2 separate regions of the Homo sapiens genome follow, and region 1 is linked to region 2. Evidence: promoter capture Hi-C in 16 types of primary human blood cells and fetal thymus (Javierre and others, 2016). All regions are on one chromosome and are shown on one strand. Each heading gives the region's core, a stretch centred on a gene start or on the middle of the fragment in contact. The rest is flanking DNA. Distances are from core to core; before and after follow the strand shown. Region 1 holds the start of SLC9A6 (solute carrier family 9 member A6). Region 2 has its middle 5.0 kb from the start of MAP7D3.

Evidence for each region. Contacts are between HindIII fragments. The CHiCAGO score rates a contact against its expected background, and 5 or more counts as called.
Region 1: a contact is called between the fragment with the promoter of SLC9A6 here and a fragment that was not itself captured in region 2, in 2 of 17 cell types (fetal thymus and naive B cells). The highest score is 6.7, in fetal thymus.

Annotation. Positions count from the first base shown.
Region 1 is chrX:135,983,589-135,989,425 of GRCh38, reverse strand. SLC9A6 (solute carrier family 9 member A6) reads right to left here and starts at 3,991. Exons shown (of 18, transcript NM_001379110.1): 1 at 3,949-3,991; 2 at 3,599-3,823. The coding sequence starts at 3,767. RefSeq lists an enhancer at 3,591-3,710 and a silencer at 3,861-4,100. The HindIII fragment of the contact is 4,728 bases long and covers 2,453-5,837 here.
Region 2 is chrX:136,253,401-136,259,398 of GRCh38, reverse strand. It overlaps a transcript of MAP7D3 not described here. Among named protein-coding and RNA genes, the nearest start is that of MAP7D3, 5.0 kb to the right of the region's middle. The HindIII fragment of the contact is 2,470 bases long and covers 3,359-5,828 here.

The sequences.
Region 1 (5,837 bases), core at 2,742-5,241, 270 kb after region 2:
CAAATATTTCTGCCATATTTTGCTTTTTATACCATCTGTAAGCACAGTGTAGTGCGTGATCACTTTTCAGACTTAATTTAACTACCTCGACAACTTTTACTAACAGTGACTCACTTTTAAGCTTCTTAAGAAAGCTAACCCAAGGAGCAAAACATGTGGGTACTTTGCAATTGTGTGTTTGTAACTGGAGCAATTGATCTATATTACAATCTAGAAACTGACCACTTTGGCAATTTAAACTGTTTTTACTCCTGCTTCTCAGATAAAGGAAAAGCTTATTTTTAATAGCATTTTCCAGGATTTACGTAGCTAACCCAATATCACAGGAATAAGATCACCAGTGGGCTGAATCTTAGAGGTCTAGGCATCCCATTTTGACCCCAGAGTCATGCTGAAAAATAAAGGTTTTAAAATAATATATTAATAATAATAAGATAGCTATGATGTTGTGAGAGCTATAAGAAAAATAACAGACAATAAATAGGACTAGAAAACTTCCATTTCTGACCAGGCGAGGTGGCTCACACTTATAATCCCAGCACTTTGGGAGGCCAAGGTGAAAGGATAGCTTGAGCCCAAGAGCTAAGAGCTTGAGACCAGCCTGGGCAACATGGGAAGACCCCCCCACACTCGCGTCACCACAAAAATAAAAATAAAAAATTAGCCAGGTGTGGTGATGCACACCTGTAGTCACAGTAACTCAGAAGGATGAGGTGGGAGGATCACTTAAGCCCAGGAGGTTGAGGCTGCAGTGAGCTATGACCCCACCACTGCACTCCAGCCTAGGCGACAGAGCAACACTCTATCAAAAATAAAAAAAGGAAAAAGAAAACTTCAATTTTCATGCTATTGAAAATACTTTGACCCTCCACAAAAAAAGAAAGAAAGAAAGAGAGAGAAAGAAAGAGAGAGAAAGAAAGAAAGAAAAGAAAGAAAGAAAGAAAGAAAGAAAAGAAAGAAAGAAAGAAAAGAGAGAGAAAGAAAGAAAGAAAGAAAAGAAAGAGAGAGAAAGAAAGAAACTTTGACCCAATCCCATCTATTCTCGAACTGGACTTGCGAGTTAAGTTAGGAGGCTGTTTGGTCCACAGCACCCATTGCCCACAATGAGAAAATAGGACAGGCTAAAGAACGCCAAGTCAACTCCAGATTTGACTCCCAGACTAACACTCTTGCACTTTACATTCCACAAGAGATACCCTTGTTTTTCCTTCAAAAAATACTAACACCAAGGTGCTCTATCACTTTTTATTAACTTAGAAACCTCACAAAATGCAATCGGTAATCCTTTTCTACTTCAGTCCTAGAGTTAGATGAGGTTAATGATACCAGCTACCAAAGAGAAAATATTTCCAGGGCAATTCAAAGCCCCTATTTGATTCTCTTAAAAAGACTGTATTTGTCCCTTGACTTATGAGACTGACCAATTAAAAGAGTTGTTCTGGGCCTAATCTGAGAAAATGCAGTTGTAACAGCAATAATAATAATAATAGCACAGCTATCATTTCTTGGGCATTTACTTAAGGGTCAGTTACTAGTCTAAAAACATTTCTTCCTCACAGTAATCCTACTATCATCATCCCTAACATATAGATGATGGTAAAAGAGAGTAAGGGACTTGTCTAAGATCACACATACCTATGGGCAGAGTGTGACGGGAATCTAGGTCTGATTCTAAAGCAGGGGTTGGCAAACTACAGCCCTTGGTCTGTTTTTGTATGGCCCGAGAGCTAAGAATAGTTTTTATGTTGTAAAACTTTATAAAAAGAAAAAAAAATCAAAGAAAAAAAATGCAACAGCGACAGAGATCTACGTATCCACAAGATCAACAATCATTACTACCTGGCCCTTTACAGAAAAAAAAAAAAATTGCTGACCTCTGGTCTAAAGCCTTGTACCTTTAATTACCACATCATACTATCTCTCTCTATAAAAGAAGTATCTCTGATCAGTTCATTACTTTATAATACTCATTTGGCATTTAACCAAATTTAAGATGCCATTATTTTCTTTATATGACCTGCCTATAAGTGACTTGAAGGCAAAGATCTTATACCTCTTTGTATTTTCTGAGCATAATACATAGAAGGTTTATCAACAAATGTTTGTTGAGGATAGTAAATAAATCACACACTGTTATGCAGAAAATTATATAGAAATATATAGCTTATCTGGCCAATTTGGCTTAAGGTGCACTGCAAATGAAATGCAAAACATATTAAATATAAAAACCATCTAATATGTCTAAAAACTAGGAATCTTAGTGAGCAGAGATATTTTACACGCAGGCTCAGAACTGTATTCTCTTAAAAATGAAAAATAAGCCTGAGTTCATGCATCTTCCTGAGGCACACAACTACCTTTCCTTGCTATCCTTGAGAGATGCACATTACAGAAGTCTGGATTTACTAGGGGGCGGGGGTTTGCATGGAGCAATGTCTTTTGTGCCAAAGCTTCATCTACCTATCTGCAAGTCTGAGAGACAAACCTCAACAAGCTCATCGGTTTAACTGCTCCAAATGAAGATAATCTTCACACATGTACTGCACAGAAAGAATTGTTTGTCCGCCCTCATCTCTTTAGCAATACCCGCACAGATTAATACAGTCGGCAATATGTATCTTTTCTCCTCTTGAGGCCCCAGCACAGCTCAAAATGCCTCTGAGCCCACACTTTGATTTACCCCTTCTCGCCTTGTCACCAAAATAATAATAATAATAATAATAATAAACCTCAGAAAGCAGACTGAGACACAAGAATCGAAGCCATTTATTCTACAATCGGTCAATAACCTCATGCCAACAGCAAGTCACCCATACTGCATATGCATGGTGTTTGTAATTACTGTTTGTCTGAACTGTCCTGATCATCGTATAGTACACTATACTTCTGGAAGGACCTTAACTCTTCCTCGTCCTCACTTTTGTATGCCTGAATTGGAAGGGTCAACCACAGGTATCCATATCAGATATTAGAGGCATAGTACAATAAATGGGATGTCATTAAAAATGCCCTAAGCCTTCTGTAGCCTATTTCACGTTCGGGTTTTTTTTTTCGGACTCCACAAGAATAAGATTTTCCTTTGCAACCTCGAAAGGACAGGGCGTAGCAGGAGCTAGGTGTTGAGTAAAGGTCGACTCTGGCTCCAAAAGAACGCCAGATTCTGGGCAGTAGAGATACTACTGCAGTTTCAATGAACCTTAAACAAACTGACACCCCAGAGAAATGGATCGCAATGGTGTCTCCCCTCCCCCAGCCCCCAGCCCAATTCCAGACACCGCGCCCACTCGTTTTCCATCCTCAGCCCCGGGTCCCGAGCTTGGTAGGCAGGGAAAGGGTGGGGGGCTGGGGGTGCGGAGGAAAAAGGGGGTGGGGTCGGAAGCGAAAAAGGTGTGGAGAGGCAGATAAAATGGGGCGCGAGGCTGAAGAGGAAAGGGGGTGAGGCAGAGAAACGCGGGGTAGGGGGAAGGCGAGGCAGAAAATGGAAGGAATTAGAAGGGGAGCCGAACGTAGGCCGAGCAGGGCCAGCAGAGGAGGCGAAGCAGCCGGCGGGCAGAGAAAGGGGCAGCGCCAAGGGGCTGACAAGGGTTGAGGAACTTGCCATAAATCATAGCCAGGCCGGTTTCGTGCAGGAAGCGGGCCCGGCGGTGCTTGAAGAGCCAGATTGTGAGAATGGTGAGGGTGAGCAGCAGGATGAAGATGAGCAGGTTGGCGCTGTCCTGCCGGTGGCTCTCCTCGGCTTGCTTCTCGGACACGATCTCCTCGTCCATGGCTCTAGCCTCTCCGCCGCCGCCGTCCGAAGCCCCTGCCCAGTCAAAGACGCCCACTGCGAGGAGCAACCAAAGGGGCCGCATGAGCCTGCGGGCTCGGGGACTGCTGCCGACGCCACGGCGGAGGGGTGCCCGCCGCCAGCCGCGCCGAGCCATGTCTCCCCCCGCCTCCCGCCCCTACCTCACCGGCGGCCGCCCGCGGTCGGACCACTCCCCGAGGGCTCACGGGAAAGGGGCGGGGCCCGGGGGTAGCCGTCGGAGCGCGCGCCGCCGCCGCCGCTCTTAAAGGGGCCGCGGCATCCCAAGCTCGCTCTGCCAGGTTCCTTTGCCCCTCTGTCCCAGGTCACACGCACCCACAGGCGCTGCCGGGAATGAAAGGCCGTCTAAACTAGCCCACTGCCTTTGGCTAAAGAAACATCGGCTCAGTGTAACCAAGCAGAGGCAGACTGCGCTTTCTACTTTGATCCTATTCTCAGAGCTCTCAGGGGAATTGATCTTTCATAGGAATTGATCTTTCATAACCCATCTCAATATCGTCCCCCAGTGTCTCTTAACAGGATAAGTTGTCCCCTTGGGAGGAGCCTCAATCTCCATCTCTGTAATTTAAATTTAAATCGGATTCTCCTTGTATTGTCCTCATCGGGAAAGAAAAAAAAAAAAACACAAAAAAACACCACACACACACAGAGCACTGTAGCAGTTCATAAAACAATCGACTCAAAGGTATGGATTATGTGTGTGTCTGTGTAGTCGGTTTTCTTTACATGTAAACATCTGATATAAGTCATCTCTCACGCTAGGAATCTGTACACAGAAACTCATCAACCTTACAGCAAAGATTGGATCGGTTTGTGCTTAGATTTCCCAATGCTCGTAAACACTTCCCTCCCGAAGAAAAAATCTTGGGTGGTGTGGTGGATTTCTCCTTCTCCTCTTGCTCCTTTTTACTGCTGTTTTAAAGCAAATGTCCCCAGCTCCGAAGTCACCCTTGACCCCTATCTCTCATCTCTCCTCTTTAGTATTCCTCAGGACAGTATTTTTTTTCTGTTCTCAGCCTGTCCAACCTCTCTCACCAGAATTTTCACAGTTCTCACCTCCATACTGGAGCTTTGTCTTTTGAGAACAGTGACTTCCTATTTTTTCTGTATTTCTCCGATCGCTCCTTAGTTTGTGTGGGCTCTTTGTTTTCTCAAGACTTTGATTTCAACATGAATGATCTACAAGTCTCAAGCCCTGGCCTGCTGCCCCAACTTCAGGCCTCTACCTGTTGGATTCTGAGCATACCCTGTTGAGGCTCCTACCACCCTCAAAACTAAAAATATTTTGAAATGAGCTCATTTGAAATGAGTTCCCCCTGCAAGTACAAATTCCTTCTCAAATTCTTCATACCATCAGTGGTACCACTGTCAGTTCAATTCCTATCATTCTGCCTGGAACTCATGATTCTCAAATGGTTCTTTCCATCTCATGGCCATATAACCTCCTTGCTAAAACAAGTAATACTCAGGCAACTCCAAGCTGCCCCTGTGTGTATTCACCCTCACTAACCAGCTCTCTAAGCTCTCAGGATGATGAGCTAAACAAAAAAAGCACTCAAACGATGTCCAATTCCACTTTCTGTCCCTGTCAGGTCAGGAACTGTCCCAAATCAGAGCCAGTGACTGTGTGCCCATTCTCTGCTATTAGTACTTGGGTCTGTGTCTTCCCAAGAAACCTCATGGCTGCCTGTTCCCCTATACCCTGACTCCACTTGAACCACACTGTCCTGTTCACACAGAGCTGGGCTTTGTGGAAGCAAGAAACCTAGGTGAGGATCCTTCCCATTCTCCCCATCATCCTCTCCCCAGAAGACCTAGTAAATGAGCTTACCTGCTAACTGCTCATTCCAAGGCTGTTTTGTCCCAGCATAAACCCACTTTTCACTGAGTGTTGGGAACTTGAAAAAAAAAAAAAAAAACCCGAAGCCACAGATTGCTTCCCTGACCAGAGTCAGGAAATGTCTTCAAGCACCAGACTCCACCTCTGTTTATGTGGCCCCAGCAACTTAGTATGCCCCTCAGCAATCTCTTT
Region 2 (5,998 bases), core at 3,344-5,843:
TTGTGGGCCTTGAAGTGTTTGCTGTTGGGTTAACCTGAGCCTCAGAACTTTTGCTCTGTTTTTGCTGAGTCCTTCACCTGACCTGCATGCAAAGATGATGGGAATCCATTGGCAAAACTTGCTTTGACTCTTGGCTACCCATGCGTGCATGCCAATAGACCCACATGCCCTGGAGATTGCCCACACAGGTCCCTTTATATTCTCAGGCCCTTTTTCTCCCAAAGTACACATTCTTTAAATAGGGCTGTGAACTGGCCATGAAAAAAACAATGAGGTTTACAGTGAAGGCTTTCAGCTACACAACTGTATCAGCCCATTGACAACTGAGTTTTGCAAAGGGACATTCTCTCAAGAAGAACCACAGCAAGAACAGATTTTTAACCAGTGAAAATGCCTTCAGGTTGAATCTCAAAGTGTTTATAATCTAAGACTTTAGAACACCATGTAGCCCCAGATAGGACTTGATGATTAATGAAGTACAATACATAAGTATGGATGAGATTCCTCCCAGCCACAGAGCTTCCAGATGTCTAGATCAACACTCAAAGCAACAAACCATTCCCTCTGCCACAGAGACATCTGAGTTTGCAGCATGAAAAACTGGGGGCTGAGTGCAGTGGATGAGGGGACATGGTCTACTCTGAATCTGACCAATTTTCCCGGGGAAACATCTCTCTCAGTTTATAGGAGAAGAGTTTCTTCTGTGTCTCACTTTCTGTGTGTGATCTGGATGTTTTTACTTCTCCTTCATTCATCTAGCTAGCTCATTTTAAAATGTAGTTGGCTTTGTGCGTGTACTGTCCTTTGTGGGGAAAAGAGAAAATCGTGTATGCAGTGCGTTGTATCAGACTCTGGCACAGTGCATTGTGATATGAAATGCCATCAGGCATCTCTGCTGCATCTCCCTATAGGTGACGTACACCACCACCTCCACCTGTCTGTATTGTGATGTGCTTCCCTGCCTTGTCATGCTCGCTGGTAATGTCATGGTGCTACCTTGGCTTTCAATGTAACCCAGGGCAAAGCATCTGCCTGCTCTGAGTTAAAAAAAATATATGTATATATACACACACATATACGTATACATATACATATATATACATATATATATTCCACAATGTACACAATACTAGATCTGTATTAGAATCTCTAATATTTTCCATTATCAAAGTGTAATGGTATTAAATACTCAGCAGTAATTGTCATCACACAAGACATTGTTCAGTATACTCAGGAATGGATGTCATATAAATAATAACACTTATAGAATCAGAAACTCTGGGAATGGGGCCCAGAAATCTATGTTAACTCCTATTTTCTTCTCATTTTTTCCTATCTGGATTTTACCAATTTTTAGCTCTATTAGAAATTCCAAAGTGTCTTTAAAGGGCATCCCTTGATACTTTCTGCTTTTTGGCATCCTCTGAAGCTTCCCTTATATTGCAGGCCTGTATTTGGAATGAGGAGGCACAGCCCATGTTTGCTGTACTTTATTTGAAGTCAAGAAAAAAAAATGAGGACATTTTCTTGCCCTTTAATAATTTTAAGTCTAGATCTTTTCAACACTGGGGTGGCCATCCAAAGCATTTTCATTTCTTCCTCCTTCAGTACCCAGGGGGCTTCTAGTACTCTCTTTTATTCATTCCATAAATATTCTTTACAGGATACACAGCATGATAAATGTGGCACATCTTCCTTTATACATGTATTTTGAAATCAGTCCCATGTACTCAGCATTTATTGACTCTTCTGAGCCTTTCTAGAAGGAAGCCTGCTTAAAAGGAGTCATATCTATCTCCCTTGCAAGATATACATTAAACACCCATTTTTTTTAATCTGTATAACTTTAAGGGGTACAAGTGCAGTTTTGTAGTGGTGAAGTGTCTGGGCTTTTATTGTAACCATCAACTAAACACCCATTTTCAATGCTTTCTTCTTCAATAGTTTGAGTCGATTTCATTAGAGGCTTAACAGACAGCTGTACCAACACTCATGTTAGGAGATGTAGTTGTGGGAGACCTTACCAATTAGAAAGTGTAACTTTCAAAAGGCTCTGTAGCCAGAGTGTGAGGATTGGATCAAGGAAGAAGTGGAAGACAAGGGTGAGGAATTAATAGTGTCCAAGGGCTTGTCAACTGGAAATTGGGAGGAACCAGGCACAGTGACTCACACCTGTAATCCCAGCAACTTGGGAGGGCAAGGCGGGTGGATCATTTGAGGTAAGGAGTTTGACCAGCCTGGGCAACATGGTGAAACCCCGTCTCTATGAAAAATACCAAAAAAAAAAAAAAAAAATTGGGTGTGGTGGGGCACGCATGTAGTCCCAGCTACTGAGGAGGCTGAGGCAAGACAATCGCTTGAAGTCGGGAGATGCAGGTTGCAGTGAGCCACGATTGCACCACTGCACTCCAGCCTGGGTGACAGAGCGAGACTCCATCTCAGAAAATAAAGGAAAAAGAAATTGGGAGGCCCAGTGGAAGGCGGACGAGCTCTGGAGTCAGATACATGTGGGCTTGAATCTCAACTCTGCGACTTCCCATCTGGGCAGGTTAGTTAACCTCCCTGGGCCTGCTTCCTCATCTGTAAAATGAGGATGGGAATAGAAGCTAGCTCATAAAGTTGTGGTGAAGATTACACGAAATAATCCATGTCGACCCTTTTGCACTGGGCCTCCCACTGAGTAGGCAACCGGCAAATGATGGCTCTTACTATCAACCAGGCAGTTTCCTCGGCTTATGTACTACTCCAAGCAAATTGCCCCCACTGCCACACCCTTCCTCTCTGAGGTTCGTCTACATTCCCACTTTGGAGGGAAATGGCAGTGGGAGCCTCTTTTTCCTCTCCTCAGAAGTTCACTGCCCCCTCCCTGGTGAGCTCAGGCTATGAAAATCAGCGCCTCCACCCCAGGGAAGACCTAAAAGGAAATGGTACAGAGCAGCCTGTTGAAATTAGACAGCAGGGTCACCCTGGTCCTCTGTGCCACAGGAAGGAGGGGTACTGAAGTGTCAGTTGTTGGTGGGGGAGCAGTGCTGCAGTGGGAATTCCAGAGCTGAGAAGGCTGCCATCAACCAAGTGAGACATGACCAGCCCCCGAGGTAAGTCTGTAACTTAGGAGGGAAGAAAGCGCAGATGTGGGAAAAGGAAGGAAAATGTGAGTAGATTTGGCAAGAGATGAGTCCAGAAGGAAACATCACTCTTCCCGGGCATCACAGTCAAGCTACAACAGATGCAGGACAAGAGTGAGCGACGAGAGGAGAAAGAACACAAAACCAGAGCCTTGTCTCAACTGTGTATATGACAAGGAATCTAACAGGTCGTTAAGAATGGAGAGAAAAAGCCATCGCATGGCTGGTAAGCTTAAAACTCATAGTACAGGACTGTGGTGGTGGCAGTTTGCATGCAAATTCGCTAGATTGGTAAGCTCACTAAATGTTTATTATATGTAAGTTCAATTTTTTAAAAAACTTCATCTTTTAATAGAAACAAATGTGGCAATTTCTAGACCTGTTATGACTGTGGTTTCTGAATGTTTTTCCCAAGGGTGTAAGGTTTAAGGGGAAAAAATAGCCTAGAAGGAAGAAAAAGCGAGCAGGATTCCAGTTCTTCTCTGCTCGCTGGGGAACACATGCTTTCCAAATACGGGGAGGAGAGGAGAGGAGAGGAGCCGCCTGGGTTCTTTCCCAGCTCTGAGTCTGTTTTGGCTCCAGAATAAACTCCACTGTCCCCAAGCTGATAGCTTTCAGTTCCAATATTTTTTTCTCAGAAATGTACAGTCTCGTGGGAGCTCCTTGGTGAGCTTCTGTAGCCCCAAGGAAACATCTAAAGGGACCCTGATGTAAGTCATTAGTTTAGAGTCAATGAGATTGGGGACCCTAGAGGGCAGGGCTTCCTTCCATATGTATTTGTCCCCACACTGCTAGTCACAGAGTAGGTGGTTAATAAAAGATTAATTGAATAATTTACCTACTAAATGAATACTAAATCTCACAGTAATCTACCAATGATGTTAGAGAGAAAGAAGTTATATCTACAGATTAAAAGGCATATCAAATAATGCAATGTATGGACCTTGTTTGAATTTTTATTCAAAGATTTTTTAAATGAGGCAATTTGGAAATTTGAACACTGCCCTGCACCATGTTTTTTCTTTTTTTATTTGCTTTTTTTTGTTTGTTTGTTTTTGAGACAGAGTTTTGCTCTTGTTGCCCAGGCTGGAGTGCAATAGCACGATCTCAGCTCACCACAACCTCGGCCTCCCAGGTTCAAGTGATCCTCCTGCCTCCGCCTCCTAGTACCTAGGATTACAGGCGCGTGCCACCACGCCCAGCTAATTTTTGTATTTTTTAGTAGAGATGGAGCTTCACCATGTTGGCCAGGCTGGTCTGGGAATCCTGACCTCAGGTGATCTGCTCGCATTGGCCTTCCAAAGTGCTGGGATTACAGGTGTGAGCCACCGCACCCAGCCGTTTTTTTTGTTTGTTTGTTTTTGTTGTTTGTTTGTTTTTGTTTTTGTTTTTACTTTTAATGTCATCATTTAAAAATAGATTTTACATTAAGATCCAGATTTCGAGTTTATTTTGAAAAGTGGGAATATCTGGCCACAGATGGGCCCATCTGCCCACTCAGCGACCATGGGCTGGAATTAAGACGTGGTTACTCGCTTTTGGAGGTGGTTCCCACAGTCCCCATCTCAGGCCCAGAATAAGTGCTAATTCTTCCACAAAGACTTCTCTGATCACTCCAAACAGGACTGATTTCTCATCCCTTAGCCCTTGGAAGCCGTTTCAGTTACTCGCCTAAATCCTACTCATGCCACCTGTATGTGGTTATTCCTGGATGTCTTATCTCCCCTCTTCCTCCTACACCCTGGCTGGACTGAGGCCTTTAGAGGCTCTAAACACTGAAAAGACTAGTAGGGTGCCTCCCCATGTGTAATTCCCAATCAAATTTTATTTTTCAAAGTGACAGTGTTTACAAATAAGTTGAAGACAAACTTCTAGATTGAAAAAAACTCGGCTGGGCGCAGTGGTTCACATCTGTAATCCCAGCACTCTGGGATGCCAAGGAGGGTGAATCACTTGACCTCAGGAGTTGGAGACTAGACTGGTCAACATGGCAAAACCCCGTCTCTACTAAAAATACAAAAATTAGCCGGGCGTGGGGGTGCAGGTCTGTAATTCCTGCTACTTGGGAGGCTGAGGCAGGAGAATCGCTTGAACCCAGGAGGCGGAGGTTGCAGTGAGCCAGGACTGTACCACTGCACTCCAGCCTGGGTGATAGAGTGAGACTCCATCTCAAAAAATAAAGAAAAAATTATCTAACTTCTTATTTGGAAAAACCTCAAATCTTTACCCCTACATTCTTCAATATTTATGTCTTTTTTTGTGTTCGTGAGACAAAGTCTCATTCTGTCTCCCAGGCTGGAGTGCAGCAGGCAATCTCAGCTCACTGCAACCTCCGCCTCCTGGGTTCAAGCGATTCTCTTGCCTTAGCCTCCCGAGTAGCTGGAATTACAGGCATGTGCCACTACACCCAGGTAATTTTTGGGTTTTTGTCTTGTGTTTTTATTTTTTTCTAGAGATGGTGTTTCGCCATGTTGGGCCAGGCTGGTCTGGAACTCCTGAGCTCAAGCAATGTGCCGGCCTCAGCCTCCCAAAGTGCTGGGATTACAGGCGTGACTATTTATTTCTTAAGAAGAAGTGCATTTTCCTAGGTGACTACAACATCATTCCCACACCCAAGAAATTTGACCTTGATACAATATCATGTACCATACAGTTCATATTCAAATTTTCTAATTATGCCAGTAACGTATGCCCTTTCAAGCTTCTTTTAAAAATTAGGGTTGTAATCAAGGATCATACATTGCATGTGGTCTCTTTAGCCTCCTGTGATCTGGAACACTTCTCTGATTTTTGTTGTTAGTCTTTCATGACACTAATATTTTGAAGCATTGGGGCCAGTTATTTTGTGGACTATATCACAGTCTCTATCTCTG